5 separate regions of the Homo sapiens genome follow, and all the other regions are linked to region 1. The links are contacts of gene promoters, found by promoter capture Hi-C in blood cells and fetal thymus (Javierre and others, 2016). All regions are on one chromosome and are shown on one strand. Each heading gives the region's core, a stretch centred on a gene start or on the middle of the fragment in contact. The rest is flanking DNA. Distances are from core to core; before and after follow the strand shown. Region 1 holds the start of SYCP3 (synaptonemal complex protein 3). Region 2 has its middle 45 kb from the start of SPIC. Region 3 has its middle 28 kb from the start of DRAM1-AS1. Region 4 has its middle 36 kb from the start of MYBPC1. Region 5 has its middle 18 kb from the start of MYBPC1.

Region 1 (2,937 bases), core at 151-2,650:
TTTTAACAGTTTCCTCATTTATTTGGGGGGCCAAAAGTTAAGAAGATAATGACATTTGTTAAAAAATAATAAAATAAATAGGCCAAGCACGGTAGCTCACGCCTGAAATCCCAGCACTTTGGAAGGTTGAGGCAGGCAGATCACCTGAGGTCAGGAGTTCAAGACCAGCCTGGCCAACATGATGAAACCCCGTCTCTACTGAAAAAAAAAAACAAAATTAACCGGGCGTGGTGGCACGTGCCTGTAGTCCCAGCTGCTCAGGAGGCTGAGGCAGGAGAATCGCTTGAACCCGGGAGACAGAGGTCACAGTGAGCCAAGATCGCAGCCACTGCACTCCAGCCTGGGTGACAAGAGTGAAACTTCGTCTCAAAAAAAAAAAACAACAACAGAAATGGCCGGGCGCTGTGGCTCATGCCTGTAATCCCATCACTTTGGGAGGCCGAGGTGGGTGGATCACCTGAGGTCAGGAGTTTGAGACCAGCCTGGCCAACATGGTGAAACCCCGTCTCTACTAAAAATACAAAATTAGCCGGGCGCGGTGGCGGGTGCCTATGATCTCAGTTACTCAGGAGGCTGAGGCAGAAGAATCGCTTCAACCCGGGAGGCGGAGGTTGCAGTGAGCTGAGATGGCCCCACTGCACTCCAGCCTGGGCGACAGAGTGAGACTTCGTCTCAATCAATCAATCGATGAGAGAGAATGACAGTGTCCACCCCGACTCCAAGCGCGCAGTGCTGGAGAGGTGGCCCCTGAGGCCTGGGAGTTCCAAATTTTGGGGCCGCCTCTGCCAGATTCTGGCTAAATCTGGGCAACTCTAGCAGGGCGCTCAGTCACGCGGGGAAATTATAGTTGCTGGCGGGACACGACATGAGGATGCCAGAAATAAGCTCATAATAATCAAGACAAATAATAAAAACGTCCCGCAATTTAGGTCTCGGAAAATGAACACAGGCAGAAGATTTCGACAACAAATACATCGAGGAACCACGAAAGGCGCCCTCGGCGTGGAGCGGGCAGGAGGGAGACGCGCGGAGCGAGGTAGGGCCCTGCCCGGCCCCGCCGCGTCCCTCCTGTAAGTGGTCCCAGGGTGTAGCGATGGGGCCCAGCCCCAGCCCAGCCCGCCCGCTTTCCACTAGGCCCTATCCTGCTCAAGGCCCTGTCCTCAGGTTCGCGGCCTCCGTTTTCTCGTCAGAGGCCCCAGGCGACGCCAGGAGGTAAGATTTACCTCACTGGTCAAGGGCAGCCTCTGGCCTGGACACCTGCGATAGACAGACGCCTCCCCTGCTCACACCTGAAACACACCGCAATGGCCGAGGACCAGTTACTGGTCGTCGACAGGCGTCCTCCACAACTCCTCCACAAGCGCGCTTCACCTGAGGTGGCCCCTTCTCCGCGACGCTTCTGAGGCAAGCTGGGATTCGCACAGGAGAAAAGCCAGTCCCGCCTCATCCGGACACGTCGCTGATTGGCTGGACGCAGAGCGCAGGCGTGAACTGGGTGGCGAGGCTCCGCCCCCATGGGGCGATTGCGCGCCCAAATAGCTGGCCCAGGGTGCTTTGGCCGCCGGAGCGGGTTGCGAGTACACTTGAGGCCTGGTGCCTTCCAGTTTTTAAGTTTTAAATGTTTATAATCGAAAATTGCAGCTAGGCGCAGTGGCTCACACCTGTAATCCCAGCACTTTGGGAGGCCGAGGCAGACGGATCACTTGAGGTCAGGAGTTCCAGACCAGCCTGTCCAACATGGCGAAACCCATCTCTACTAAAAATACAAAAATTAGCCGGACGTGGTGGCGGGCGCCTGTAATCCCAGCTACTTGGGAAGCTGAGGCAGGAGAATCGCTTGAACCCGGGAGGCAGAGGTTGCAGTGAGCAAGACCATGCCATTGTACTCCAGCCTGGGCAACAGAGTGAGACTCCATGTCAAGAAAAAAAAAAAGAAAATTGCGGAATAATATGTAAATTATGAAACATGATGAACATACCACCTAATTTATGAAGTAGGGCTTTACCAACATTCACTGAATCTCCTCAGGCAGGCCTTTCCATCCGATCCTCACCAGGACCCCACCCTTCCCCATTCAGGGATATAAGAAAATTATCCTAAATTTATGTAAATCATTCACCCTTCCTTATTTTCTAAGTTTTATTACCACATGAAAATGTGTCGTTAAACAACACGGCTTAGTTTCGTTCGCGTTTGGCATTACAAAAAATTGTCCCATAGTCTATGTAGTGTTCTGACAGTCCACTAGAATGGCAAAACTACAAAATATGACTACACGGAGTGATGATGAATCTATGTAACAAAGGGAACCCATTCAGTGGGTGGGAGTATAATTGTAAAACAATTATTTGGTGTAACTGGAAATCACCTATCAATTGCAAAACAATTTTTGAAGATACAATTTATGAAGGAAATGAAACTCACCTATAATCCCACTACCCAGAAATAATATACAGTTTAAAATTGGGGGTATTATTGCCTTTCATCCTTTTTTCTGTGCTTATATGTATTTTCCCCCAAATAATTTTAAAATATATTTCAACCTTTGTACCTGCCTTAGTTTGCTCACAGCTCTGCAATCCTTTTTCTATTTGAAATCATACATTTTACTTTTTTTTTTTTTTTTTTTTTGAGACAGGGTTTTGCTCTCTTGCCAAGGCTGAAGTGCAGTGGCATGGCATGATCACGGCTCACTGCAGCCTTGATTTCCTGGGCCCAAATGATCCCCCTGTCTCTGCCTCCTGCGTAGCTGGGACTCATGCACGTGCCACCATGCCTGGCTAATTAAGAAAAAAAAAAAAAAAAAGTTTGCCGAGATGGGGTCTCACTATGTTGCCCAGGCTGTTCTCAAACTCCTAGGCTCAAATGATCCTCTCACCTCGGCCTTCCAAAGTGCTGGGATTACAGGCATGAGCCAACTTGCCTGGCCTATATTT
Region 2 (2,937 bases), core at 198-2,697, 220 kb before region 1:
TTAATAGAGCAAAAAGGCTAAGTAAGAAAGAACTCTAGTCTCACTGCTTGAGTTGGGACATTGGTCTTTTCTTGCCTCTGAAGTCAGACTGAAACCACTTAACACTGCAGGCTCTCCTGGTTCTCAGGCCTTCAAATTCAGACTGGAGCTACACCATCAGCTGTCCCACATCTCCAGCTCACTGACTGCTGATCTTGAGACTTCTCCGCCTTTATAATTGGATAAGCCAATTCATTACAATAAATCTCTTTACACACACACACACACACACACACACACACACATTCTATTTTTTTGGAGAACCCTGACTAATATAAGCTTCTACAGCAAAACACAGCAGACTTGGTGGCTTTAACAACAGAAATTTATTTCTCACAGTTCTGGAGTGTGGGAAGTCCAAGATCAAGGTGCCAGCCAATTTAGTTCCCAATGAGGGCTCCCTTCCTGGCATGGCAATTGCTATCTTCTTGCTCTGTCCTCAAGAGGTGGGGAGGAGAAGGCGAGAGACAGAGAACTCTTTAGTGTCTCTTCTTATAAAGACACTAATCCCAGGAGATCAGGGCCCCACCCTTAAAGACCCCTTTTAACCTTAATTACATCCTTACTCCAATACAGTCACATTGGGAATTAGAGATTCAAAATATGAATTTGGAGGGGACACATACTTTCAACCCACAGCCAATATTAACTCAGAAAAACTGCTTTTTTTTTTGAGACAAAGTCTTGCTCTGTCACCCAGGCTGGAGTATAACGGCACGATCTCAGCTAACTGCAACCTCCGCCTCCTGGGTTCAAGTTATTCTCCTGCCTCAGCCTTCTGAGTAGCTGGGATTACAGGTGCCTGCCACCACACCCAGCTAATTTTTGTGTTTTTAGTAGAGATGGGGTTTCACCATGTTGGTCAGGCTGGTCTCAAACTCCTGACCTCGTGATCCACCCTCCTCAGCCTCCCAAAGTGCTGGGATTACAGGTGTGAGCCACTGCGCCTGGCCAGGAAAAGTGTTTTTTAAAAGTGTTCTTATTCTACAGAATGTTTTTATTCCATTTTTACATGGGTCTTTAGCATCCAAGTCACTGGGGCCACTTTTTAAGCCACCAACCTAATTTGTCCTTGCCATCTGAATTGTTTCTATAGCTCTCCTTGAATCACTTATGATTCCATTACAAGAAATGTCATTGCAAGACCAAGTACTCATTTGCAAACGTTAAGGTCATCTTTTTTATACAAAAAAATAACAGATGGCTAGGATGCGGAAAAAAGAGAACTCTTACACACTGTTGGTGGGAATGAAAATTAGAATAGCCACTATGGAAAACAGTATGGAGGTGTCTCAAAAAACTAAAAATAGAACTTCCATATGATCCAGCAATCCCACTACTGGGTATCTACCCACAAGAAAAGAAATCAATATATCAACGGGATACCTGTCCTCACATGTTTATCACAGAGCTATTCGCAATAGCAAAGATATGGAATCAACCTAAATGTCCATCAACAGATGACTGGATTTTAAAATGTGTTATATACGCACAATAGGAAACTATTAGACCATAAAAAAGAATAAAGTCATGTCATTTGCAGCAACATGGATGGAATTGGAAGCCATTATCTTAAGTGAAATAAGCCAGGCACAAAAAGACAAATACCACACATTCTGGCTCATATGTGGGAGCTAAAATATTTGCTCACATGGAGGTAAGAGTGAAAATATAGATAACAGAGACTGGGAAGGGTGAGCTGTGGGGAGAGGAGGGGATGAATAGAAGTGGATTAAAGGGTACAACATATAGTAAGATAGAAGGAATAAATTTAAAGTGAACTTTAAAAATCTTGCTGACACCAACACTCACAATTGTGAAGTCACATCCTCAGAAATTATAACTAAATCTGTGTTAGATTTTTCATCTCCATTTTTACCAATTTTATAAGCCTTTCAGATGAACATTGATCGAGGTGGTTTCAGACAAATAACTCTTCCCCAAACAGAACTTTGTTGCAAAAAATAAAGTAATTGCAAGAGTGTGGCAGTGTATAAGTCTGTTTTCTCACTGCTATAAAGAACTACCTGAGACTGGGTAATTTATGAAGAAAAGAGGTTTAATTGACTCACAGTTCTGCAGGCTTAACAGGAAGCATGACTGGGAGGCCTTTGGAAACTTACAATCATGATGGGGAAGCAAGCACTTTCTTCACAGGGAGGCAGAAGACAAGTGGTGGGGGGAGATGTCACACTTTTAAACCATCAGATCTCGTGAGAACTCACTCACTATCATGAGAACAGCATGGGGGAAATCTGTCCCCATGATGCAATCACTTTCCACCAGGTCCTTCCCTGACACATGGGGATTACAGTTTGACATCAGATTTGGATGGGGACAGAGAGCCAAACTATATCAGTCATAATATAAATTTTTCTAAGGATTCAAAAGTAGGGAGACTCTTAAGTCTCCTATTCAAAGTCTCCTTTGAATGAAACATCTTATAAACTTCCAAACTTCTTTTTTTTTTTTTTATTGAGAGACAATGTATTTGGGGAAATTACATTTTGAGTCCTTAAAGATCTACTAGTTGAACTCGAAGCTTGTCTCTTCTCTGGACACTGGTACTCCCCAGGGACTTGTTGAGACACCCACCCTCCCTTGCCCACTTTGGAAAACCCAGTTTGATTGTTTGTTTAGAAGGGGACCTTATGTTACTCTTCTGAGCATCCACATGGCATCGATGCAGCAGGGAACATTTGTTGAGCCCTTATTATGTGCCAGGAACTCTGCTAAGGGCTTTTAAATCTTATCTTACTAAATCCACTCAACAACCCAGTGGTGGTACCAACAGGTATCTTGGAAGGTCTACACAAAGTCCACCAAATCTCCATCAGGGCCTCAAAATAAACAATCTAAATAAAGAGCCAAACCAGCTCTAAACAAATCTCCTCACAT
Region 3 (2,937 bases), core at 309-2,808, 200 kb after region 1:
CGAGGAGGGAAGAGGCACATGTCCTGGACAAATTGGCATGTGCTTTGGCACACAGGCAAAAGAGGATGTGCTGTTTGGGGGAAGTTACAAGTTGTTCCATATTTTGGGAACAAATTGCTGATGGTGGCCTCACTTAGCTCAGACATGCCATCAATTCAAGGAAAAAGTTTGATCAAATTTGATACCTCCATCTCATATTTGAGCCAATCCTGAAACATAGTGATTAAGAATGAGTACTTTGATTCATAAAGAAAAAGCAGAATAGAAGTTACTAGGGGCTGGGGACAGGGGGAGATGGGGAATTATTGCTTAATGGACAAGAGTTTCTGTTTGGGATGGTGAAAAATTCCTGGAAATGGATAGTTGTACAACATTGTGAATACCATGAAATTGTAAATACTTTAAAATGATTAAAGTGGTACATTTTATGTTATGTATATTTTATCATAATTTTTTTAAAGAATAAGTACTTTGGAATCAAGACCTAATTTTCAAGACCTACCATTTCCTTTCTGTCACGCCTCAGTCAAGTCAGATAACGTCTTGGTGTCTCAGTACCCTTATCTGTAAAGTGGGAATAATGCTAGCACCTGCCTTGTAGGCTTGTCACGAGGATTCCTTGAAGCAATGCCTGTAAAGCACCTGGGAACTTGTTGGTGATCCTTATGCCTGCCCATTGAAGCTTGAAATGCCCAGCCTTAGCAGTTTGCCTGGCACAGCCAGAGCTGTGCATGGCAGATGCTGTTATAGCCCTTCCACCTCCCTCTCGACTGCATACCCTCAACTGTCTTCTCCCTGTACAGCAGCAGTTTTCAACTCTGGCTGCACATGAGAATCACCTGGAGAGTTTTTTTTTAAAACCCTGTTGCCTGGAGCAATTAAATCAGAATTTCAGGAAGTCAGATGGAAGCATTATTATTTCAGGTGATTTCAGTGTGCAGCCAAGGCTGAGAAACACGGTTCTGCTGTAGCGGTTTGCTAACTTTAGTGTGCATCAGAATCACCTGGAGGGTTTGTTAAAACACAGTTTCTGGGACCTGCCCCAGAGTTTTCCATTTAGTGGATACAAAACAACTCACCTGCTTTATTCCACCATCTATGTGGCTGCTCTTTGCTTTTGTTTGCCATCTATATCGTTTTACCCTCTTCCTAATAACCTCTTCCAGACCCATTACTGAAATCTTTGTTGAAAAGATTTGCCAATAGGCATCTTCATGCCAATGGTGTCTATATTCTCAAACCTGTTCCAGCTTTAGACGCAGTTGACTATGTCTCAAAATTCTCCTCCTTTGAATTCAGAGCTGCCACTCTTGGAGTTTTCCTCATTTCTCTTTCCTTCTCCCTCCTCTGCTTGGAACTCGGGACTCCCATGACCATTCTTTAGGTCCCTATTTTATCCCTTAAAAAGAGCACAGTCTTAAGTGTGAGAAAGATGTGGGTTTATGTCTTGTACCTGGGCAATTCAATCAAACTCTGAGCCTCATTTTTCTCACTGGTAAGTCATGGGTGATGATAATAGCACCCCTATAAATAATACATCCCTGACACATAACACTCAACTGTAGCTATTACACTGTTTCACCTTTAAAAACATTGCAAAATCTTGACCTCAGAGAGAATTCCAGGGGTGGTGGGACTAGCCCAAGGGATGCAAAGGGGAGAGCTGGGAATACAGAAAACACAGCGTGGAGGAATGAAGCCAGGATTTACCAAAAGCAAGGAGATAGTCCCAGGAATTTTCCAGGAGACCTAGGCAGACAGGGAAGTGACTAATGGGATCAGATAATAGGAACTGACCAAGAGACTCCCTATGACGGCATTAAAAGGTGGGCCTGACGAACACAGGGAGGGTGTTATTAACGGCACTAGGATGGGCTATGGAATGGCCCCAGAGGAAACCCACAAGGGGATTTCAACCCCATCAGTGTGGAACTCAGTCACTTTGGCAGGAAACAAAGTGAGAAGGAACCTGTTACAGTTTGCACCATCTATTATAGTCGATGCAAAACATGACTGTGGGGTGTTACACAGAGCTCTCATTACAAGATAAGGTCTCTGCGTGTCATTTCCCGTCAATGATGTTATTCAGCAGGATGGCTCACATGTTGAAACTTGAAACTCCTTGGGTGAAAAAAAAAATCCCTCTGCAGGCTATACCAGATGTTGCTTGTTGTAGCTCCTCAGGCCCAAAAAGATGAGTTAATCCTTGAAGGAAATTATTTTGAACTTGCATCAAACTCAGAGGCTTTGATCCAACAGGCCATGGCAATTGAAAACAAGGCTATCAGAAGAGCTGTGGGTGGTAGTCCTGTCTCTGAGAAAGGAACAGGGCCACTGGCTGACGGCTGCATTCCAGAACGCCTCCAGATGCAGAGGGCCTCACTTAGTGTGATGTTGTGAAAATACTGCACTTTAAACACATGTAGTCATAAACAAAGCTTCCTCACCCTTTAAAGACCTCACAGAAGTATCTCTCCAAGACGCTTCTCCTCTCCTGAATGCTCCAGGCCTTGCTGACCTCAGTTACCTTGAAGTTTCTCTTACCCTCATCACCCATGGCACACAGTTTAACACTTATTATTCTCCAAATACATAGTCTCCTTTCTCCAGTTATATGGTGAGTTCCTAGACATCCTAAACCCATAATATTTGATATTCCTCTGTCTCTCTGAATGCCTAGCATTCTAAGAGGAACATAACTTAAAAAGCGTCATGTTCCCCTTTGCATCCCTGAAATCTAGCACAGCACCTGGCATGTAACAGACACTCAATAAGCAAATAGGTGCTTATTAAATGAGTGGAATTGTTGATTGATAGCTAAGTTGAGTTGGCATGAAAAGGTAGATAAGGGAAGTTTTAGCAGGCATCTCTTATATTGTTTACCAAGTACCTCCCTCCTCTCCTTCCAGAAGTTTCCCTTACCCAATCCCATCTTTG
Region 4 (2,937 bases), core at 126-2,625, 180 kb before region 1:
ACTCAGGATGCTGAGGCACAAAAATTACTTGAACCCAGGAGATGGAGGTTGCAGTCAGCCGAGATTGTGCCACTGCACTTCAGCCTGGGCAACAGAGCGAGACTCCATCTCAAAAAATAATAATAATAAGATACCATTTTGGGGGGAAAATATTGGGGGAAATATTTAAAATATTGGTAGCATTCAGTGCTGACAAAGATATTGTGCAATAGACATTGCGATATGTTGCTGTTAAGACTTTGAGTTACTACAAGTTTTGGGGAAGGAAACGTAGCAGTATGCACCAAAATAAAAAATATGATACCCCTTTACCCAGGAATTGTTCTTCCTGAAGTCTCTCCTAAATAAATGAAAGTACCAGAATATAAAGCTATTCATATAAGGATGTTTACTGAAGCATTATTTGGGCAAAAATTTTGGAAGCAACTCGAATGACCAATAAGATGGAAAAAATGAAAAATTTTTATATATTCACACTAATAAAAATAGTGAATTAGTGCTATATGTATTGCCTTAGTAATATTCGAGATATATTGAGGGAAATCAAAAATTTGTACTATAATGTGCATAGTTCAATCTATTCAACATTTTTTTTTCCCTCAGAGATGGGGTCTTGCTCTGTTGCCTGGGCTGGTGTGTTGTGGCATGATCAGAGCTCACTGCAGCCTTAAACTTCTGGGCTCAAGTCATCCTCCTGCCTCAGTCTCCCAAGTAGCTGAAATTATAGGTACAAGCCATGGCACCCAGCACATTCAAATATTTAAAAAGGAAAAAGGAAAAGGCTTACATATGCACAAATGTATTTGTCCAAAATAGAAAAATGTGTGGAAGGATACACATCAACTGTTACCATTAGTTACCTTGAGGTTGGAGGTATAAACTGTTGAGAAAAAGAATCCTCCGTGTTGGCGGTCCGTTGAGAAACTGGTATGTGGACAGATATTTGGGGACCTTGAAAATCAGTGGAATCATTATGGGGAGGATTAAATGAATTATACTCTCTTTGGGATATAGCCAAAGAAATAGCTACATCTCTTCTCTTTATGACTTCTTTCCTTAAAAAAAAAAATGGTATGACCATTCAGGACATAGGCATGGGCAAGGACTTCATGACTAAAACACCAAAAGCAATGGCAATAAAAGCCAAAATTGACAAATGGGATCTAATTAAACTAAAGAGCTTCTGCACAGCAAAAGAAACTACCATCAGAGTGAACAGACAACCTACAGAATGGGAGAAAATTTTTACAATCTACCCATCTGACAAAGGGCTAATATCCAGAATCTACAAAGGACTTAAACAAATTTACAAGAAAAAAACAAACAACCCCAACAAAAAGTGGGCAAAGGATATGAACAGACACTTCTCAAAAGAAGACATTTATGCAGCCAAAAGACACATGGAAAAAATGCTCATCATCACTGGTCATCAGAGAAATGCAAATCAAAACCACAATGAGATACCATCTCACACCAGTTAGAATGGCAATCATTAAAAAGTCAGGAAACAACAGGTGCTGGAGAGGGTGTGGAGAAATAGGAACACTTTTACACTGTTGGTGGGACGTAAACTAGTTCAGCCATTGTGGAAGACAGTGCGGCAATTCCTCAAGGATCTAGAACTAGAAATACCATTTGACCCAGTGATCCCATTACTGGGTATATACCCAAAGGATTATAAATCGTGCTGCTATAAAGACACATGCACATGTATGTTTACTGCAGCACTATTCACAGTAGCAAAGATTTGGAACCAACCCAAATGTCCATCAATGTATAGACTGGATTAAGAAAATGTGGCACATATACACCATGGAATACTATGCAGCCATAAAAATGGATGAGTTCATGTCCTTTTTAGGGACATGGATGAAGCTGGAAATCATCATTCTGAGCAAACTATCGCAAGGACAGAAAACCAAACATCGCATGTTCTTACTCATAGATGCGAATTGAACAATGAGAACACTTGGACTCAGGGTGGGGAACATCACACACCGGGGCCTGTCGTGGGGTGGGGGGAGCGGGGAGTGATAGCATTAGGAGATATACGTAATGTAAATGATGAGTTAATGGGTGCAGCACACCAACATGGCACATTTATACATGTGTAACAAATCTGCACGTTGTGCACATGTACCTTAGAACTTAAAGTATAATAAAAAATAAATAAATAAAAAAGGGTATGAATGTTTCTACGGCAGTGCTATAGAAAACCCACATGGCTGAAAAGCAGGCAGTAGTTAAGCAAACCACAAGGTACTAAGTCATAGAGCAATAGAATAGTAGAGGCCAGAAGTATGGTATCTGTTGGGCATGTGTTTGAGTTCTGGCTCTACTAGTTGCTGGCTGTGTGACCATAGGCACGTTGCTTATCTGTGAGCTTTGATGTCTTTATTTAGAAATGGCAATAGCAATAGTGTCTAGCTCATAGATTTGCTCTGAGGATTAAATGAGATATGCATATCATTATGATTACTACCACTTTATAACTTATGAAATGAATAAGTAAATGAATATGTGAATGGAAAACTCTGTAAGTTACTGTTACTTGAAAAGGCAGATTAGGATATGTTGCTCGATCTTAATTTTACAAAAATTACTTACACAATGATTAAAAGCAAAAGGTCTTAAAATTTTGTAAATGTCAGTAGTTGGTATTTTAACATTGAATTATTTGTCTCTTTAATTTTATTGATACTTTATTTTATTTATTTATTCTTTTAATTTAATTTTATTTTAAGTTCCAGGATACGTGTGCAGGACGTGCAGGTTTGTTACATAGGTAAACGTGTGCCATGGTGGTTTGCTGCATCTATCAACCCATCACCTAGGTATTAAGCCCTGCATGCACTGGTGATTTATTCTGATGCTCTCCCCACCTCCACTCCACCATCCCTACAGGCACTGGTGTGTGTTATTTGCCTTCCTGTGTCC
Region 5 (2,937 bases), core at 290-2,789, 160 kb before region 1:
TTAATATTCTCTTACATGAATACACCATAGTTATCCACTATACATTGTGATAAAATTGAATTATTTTCAGTTTTTGATGTCGTGAGTAATGCTGTTATTTGTCTTCTCATGAGCATAAGAATGCATTTCTGTTGGGTATAAACCTGGAAGTAGAATTGCTGGGTCACACTGAGCTTTTTGTAAATGCTGTCAAGCATTTTTTCAAGTTGGTTGTCCTAGCTTCAGCTTAAAAATATTTGCTCTGTGTTGTTAGCCTGGAAGGTTCAGACAGCCGATCCACATAGCCCTTAGGATTAGAAGGATCTTTGTGGAAAAGTTCTTAATCCCATATAGGAAGGTATAAGAGGTATCATGATATCTTTGATACCATCTCTCAAACTTCTCCATCTTCAGGAGCTTTCTGGAAAAAAATTAGAATTCTCTTATTGAGATTATAGAGCAGACCCAAACTTCATGGGACATGGCCAAGGTCCTGTGTGGAGGGCTCAAGATGACATGCAAACTGTAGAATTTTTAACATGCTGTTGGAGATTTAGGACATTTACATAAAATTCATTTGGATGTGACTCTCTAGATCTTCTACTTGAGAAAGTATGCTTGGAAATATGTCCCAGGATGCAAATTGCATACAAGCAAAGATCTATGAATGTAACTGGAGACTTGATCTATATGTTGAATTATGATAATCTCCATTTGTCTCTGACAGGAAATGACCATGGTGTAATGGTGGAAATAGACTTAGTAGAGCTTGGAGGATGGTGGAGTTAATGAGGAGTCAAATCTCCTAATCTGCATGATTGGGGTGAAGGTGGGACTATTCACCTGATGAGAAAAATGGGAGAAACAACAGCCATTCTGTGTAGCGAATGCAACTTTGACCCTAAGAAATCCTTTATGCAGGTGGAGACACAGCTTCTTCAACCAATGAAAGAAATAATATCTGGCTTCTTGAATAGTTTCATGGTGCCACCAACAAAAACTATCATAGACCAACAATGGCAAGATGGCATCGGCAAGAATGAGCTGGTATGAAGAGGTGCTCAACCCATCCCACCACCATGGGAAATAATGTGGTAAACCGCCACTAGCATAACTGTTTACTTGCCTGTCTTCCCCGAAACTATAGGTTCTATGCAGGCAACACTCTGGATCTTCTTCTTTGTTGAATAGCCAGTGCTAACACTGTGCTGGGCCCAGAAAAGGTGCTCAATAAAGGGGTGTTGAGATGAATTGAATTGAAATCCCCTAAAGATTGGCCACAGAGTCTTAGTTATCTCAGGATGCTGGTGGAATCAAATCAGAAGCAAGAGATGCTCCCTATGCGTGGAAGGTTTAGGGTGCTGTGGAGGCTTTTGTATGCGGAAAACGTTGTTCAGAGGTTTACTTTGGAATACACAATAGGTATTAAATTTATTATAATTATACATTCATAAGCATAATTTTTAAAACTTTTAAATTCAGCTTAAACATCTAATTATTATTATTTTTTCTGGCAAAGTTTATCCATCACTTTTTTTTTTTTTTGAGACAGAGTTTCACTCTCGTTGCCCAGGCTGGAGTGCAATGGTGCAATCTCAGCTCACCGCAACCTCTGCCTCCTGGGTTCAAGCGATTCTCCTGCCTCAGCCTCCCGAGTAGCTGGGATTACAGACATGCGCCACCACGCCCCAGCTAATTTTGTATTTTTAGTAGAGATGGGGTTTCTCCGTGTTGGTCAGGCTGGTCTTGAACTCCCAACCTCAGGTGATCCGTCCTCCTTGACCTCCCAAAGCGCTGGGATTACAGATGTGAGCCACCATGCCCAGTCTATCCATCACTTTTGAGAAGATATAATAATATTGTTTCATTTACAAATCTAGTTAGCTAAAGCTAAATAATCTTTCTAAAACATCACATCACTTTAATAGGCTAGATTTTATAAGTTTAATATATTTGTTTTCTTTTTAAATATTTTGCTTTTATGAACTAAATGAGTTCTTAAATGCTTAACTGCTGTGCATGTACATGTGCATAAATGAAAACGCTCTGAAATATGTTAATGCTGCCCATAAATTTAGTGAGATTTCAACTTAAAATCAAAAGTATAAATTTTTTTTAATTTTTTATTTTTTGGAGGCAGGGTCTCACTCTGTCTCCCAGGCTGGAGTGCAGTGGCACAATCTCTGCTCATTGCAACCTCTGCCTCCCAGTTTCAAGAGATTCTAATGCCTCAGGCTCCTGAACACCTAGGATCACAGGTGTGCGACACCATGTCTGGCAATTTTTTTTTTAATTTTTAGTAGAGATGGGGTTTTGCTTCGTTGGCCGGGCTGGTTTCAAACTCCTGACCTCAAATGATCCGCCCACCTTGGCCTCGGAAAGTGCTGGGATTGCAGGTGATAGCCACCGTGCCTGGCCAAAAGTATAAATTATTTACACAATTACACATTTTAAATTAGAATTACAAGACTGTCTCTTAACTAGCACAGTACAAATGTCTAATATTAATGCATTAGTTTTGATTCTCTGAAAATTTTCTACACATAGTTCTAAATCTTTCTGGGGTTTTAAAAAATGAATATTCAATGAAGATGATTACTGTACTAGTTAACTGAGGTTGCCCTCTCACCCCAATTAATGAAAGTCATTTAGAACTAGAAATTTTGTCCAGACTTGAGACCTACAGCTCCGGAGATGCTTAGTGATTCTTCTCTCTACTCCACTGTCATCCTGAGCTTCTTTTTATAAACAGTGTGTTTTGGGCTTTGACACTTGAAAGAAGGTTGTCCTTTAATCTGTATCACCCAATTCTCTGTCTATTCTCAAGTAGCTGTAATTCGAAGCCAACTTCAAACCAGTTTGCTCATTTGCTTGCATTTTGTGTTTCTTCAGCTCTTAATATATGTGCATAGGTTTGTCATTTACAGCAAAGACTTTTAAACTTGACAGGATTTGTGT

The links. The method cuts DNA at HindIII sites, captures the fragments that hold promoters and counts their contacts. A CHiCAGO score of 5 or more calls a contact.
Region 2: a contact is called between a fragment that was not itself captured here and the fragment with the promoter of SYCP3 in region 1, in 1 of 17 cell types (M1 macrophages). The highest score is 7.1, in M1 macrophages.
Region 3: a fragment that was not itself captured here is called in contact with the fragment with the promoter of SYCP3 in region 1 in 2 of 17 cell types (neutrophils and total B cells); the score reaches 6.2 in neutrophils.
Region 4: a contact is called between a fragment that was not itself captured here and the fragment with the promoter of SYCP3 in region 1, in 4 of 17 cell types (naive B cells, M1 macrophages, M0 macrophages and 1 more). The highest score is 7.8, in naive B cells.
Region 5: a contact is called between a fragment that was not itself captured here and the fragment with the promoter of SYCP3 in region 1, in 4 of 17 cell types (total B cells, naive B cells, M0 macrophages and 1 more). The highest score is 13.8, in total B cells.

Annotation. Positions count from the first base shown.
Region 1 is chr12:101,738,062-101,740,998 of GRCh38, forward strand. SYCP3 (synaptonemal complex protein 3) reads right to left here and starts at 1,401. Exons shown (of 9, transcript NM_001177949.2): 1 at 1,290-1,401. The HindIII fragment of the contact is 5,223 bases long and covers 1-2,937 here.
Region 2 is chr12:101,519,067-101,522,003 of GRCh38, forward strand. No RefSeq gene overlaps it. Among named protein-coding and RNA genes, the nearest start is that of SPIC, 45 kb to the left of the region's middle. The HindIII fragment of the contact is 2,263 bases long and covers 317-2,579 here.
Region 3 is chr12:101,934,332-101,937,268 of GRCh38, forward strand. It overlaps the pseudogene RPL9P24. Among named protein-coding and RNA genes, the nearest start is that of DRAM1-AS1, 28 kb to the right of the region's middle. RefSeq lists an enhancer at 1,975-2,234. The HindIII fragment of the contact is 1,756 bases long and covers 681-2,436 here.
Region 4 is chr12:101,557,087-101,560,023 of GRCh38, forward strand. No RefSeq gene overlaps it. Among named protein-coding and RNA genes, the nearest start is that of MYBPC1, 36 kb to the right of the region's middle. The HindIII fragment of the contact is 6,553 bases long and covers 1-2,937 here.
Region 5 is chr12:101,575,784-101,578,720 of GRCh38, forward strand. No RefSeq gene overlaps it. Among named protein-coding and RNA genes, the nearest start is that of MYBPC1, 18 kb to the right of the region's middle. The HindIII fragment of the contact is 7,387 bases long and covers 1-2,937 here.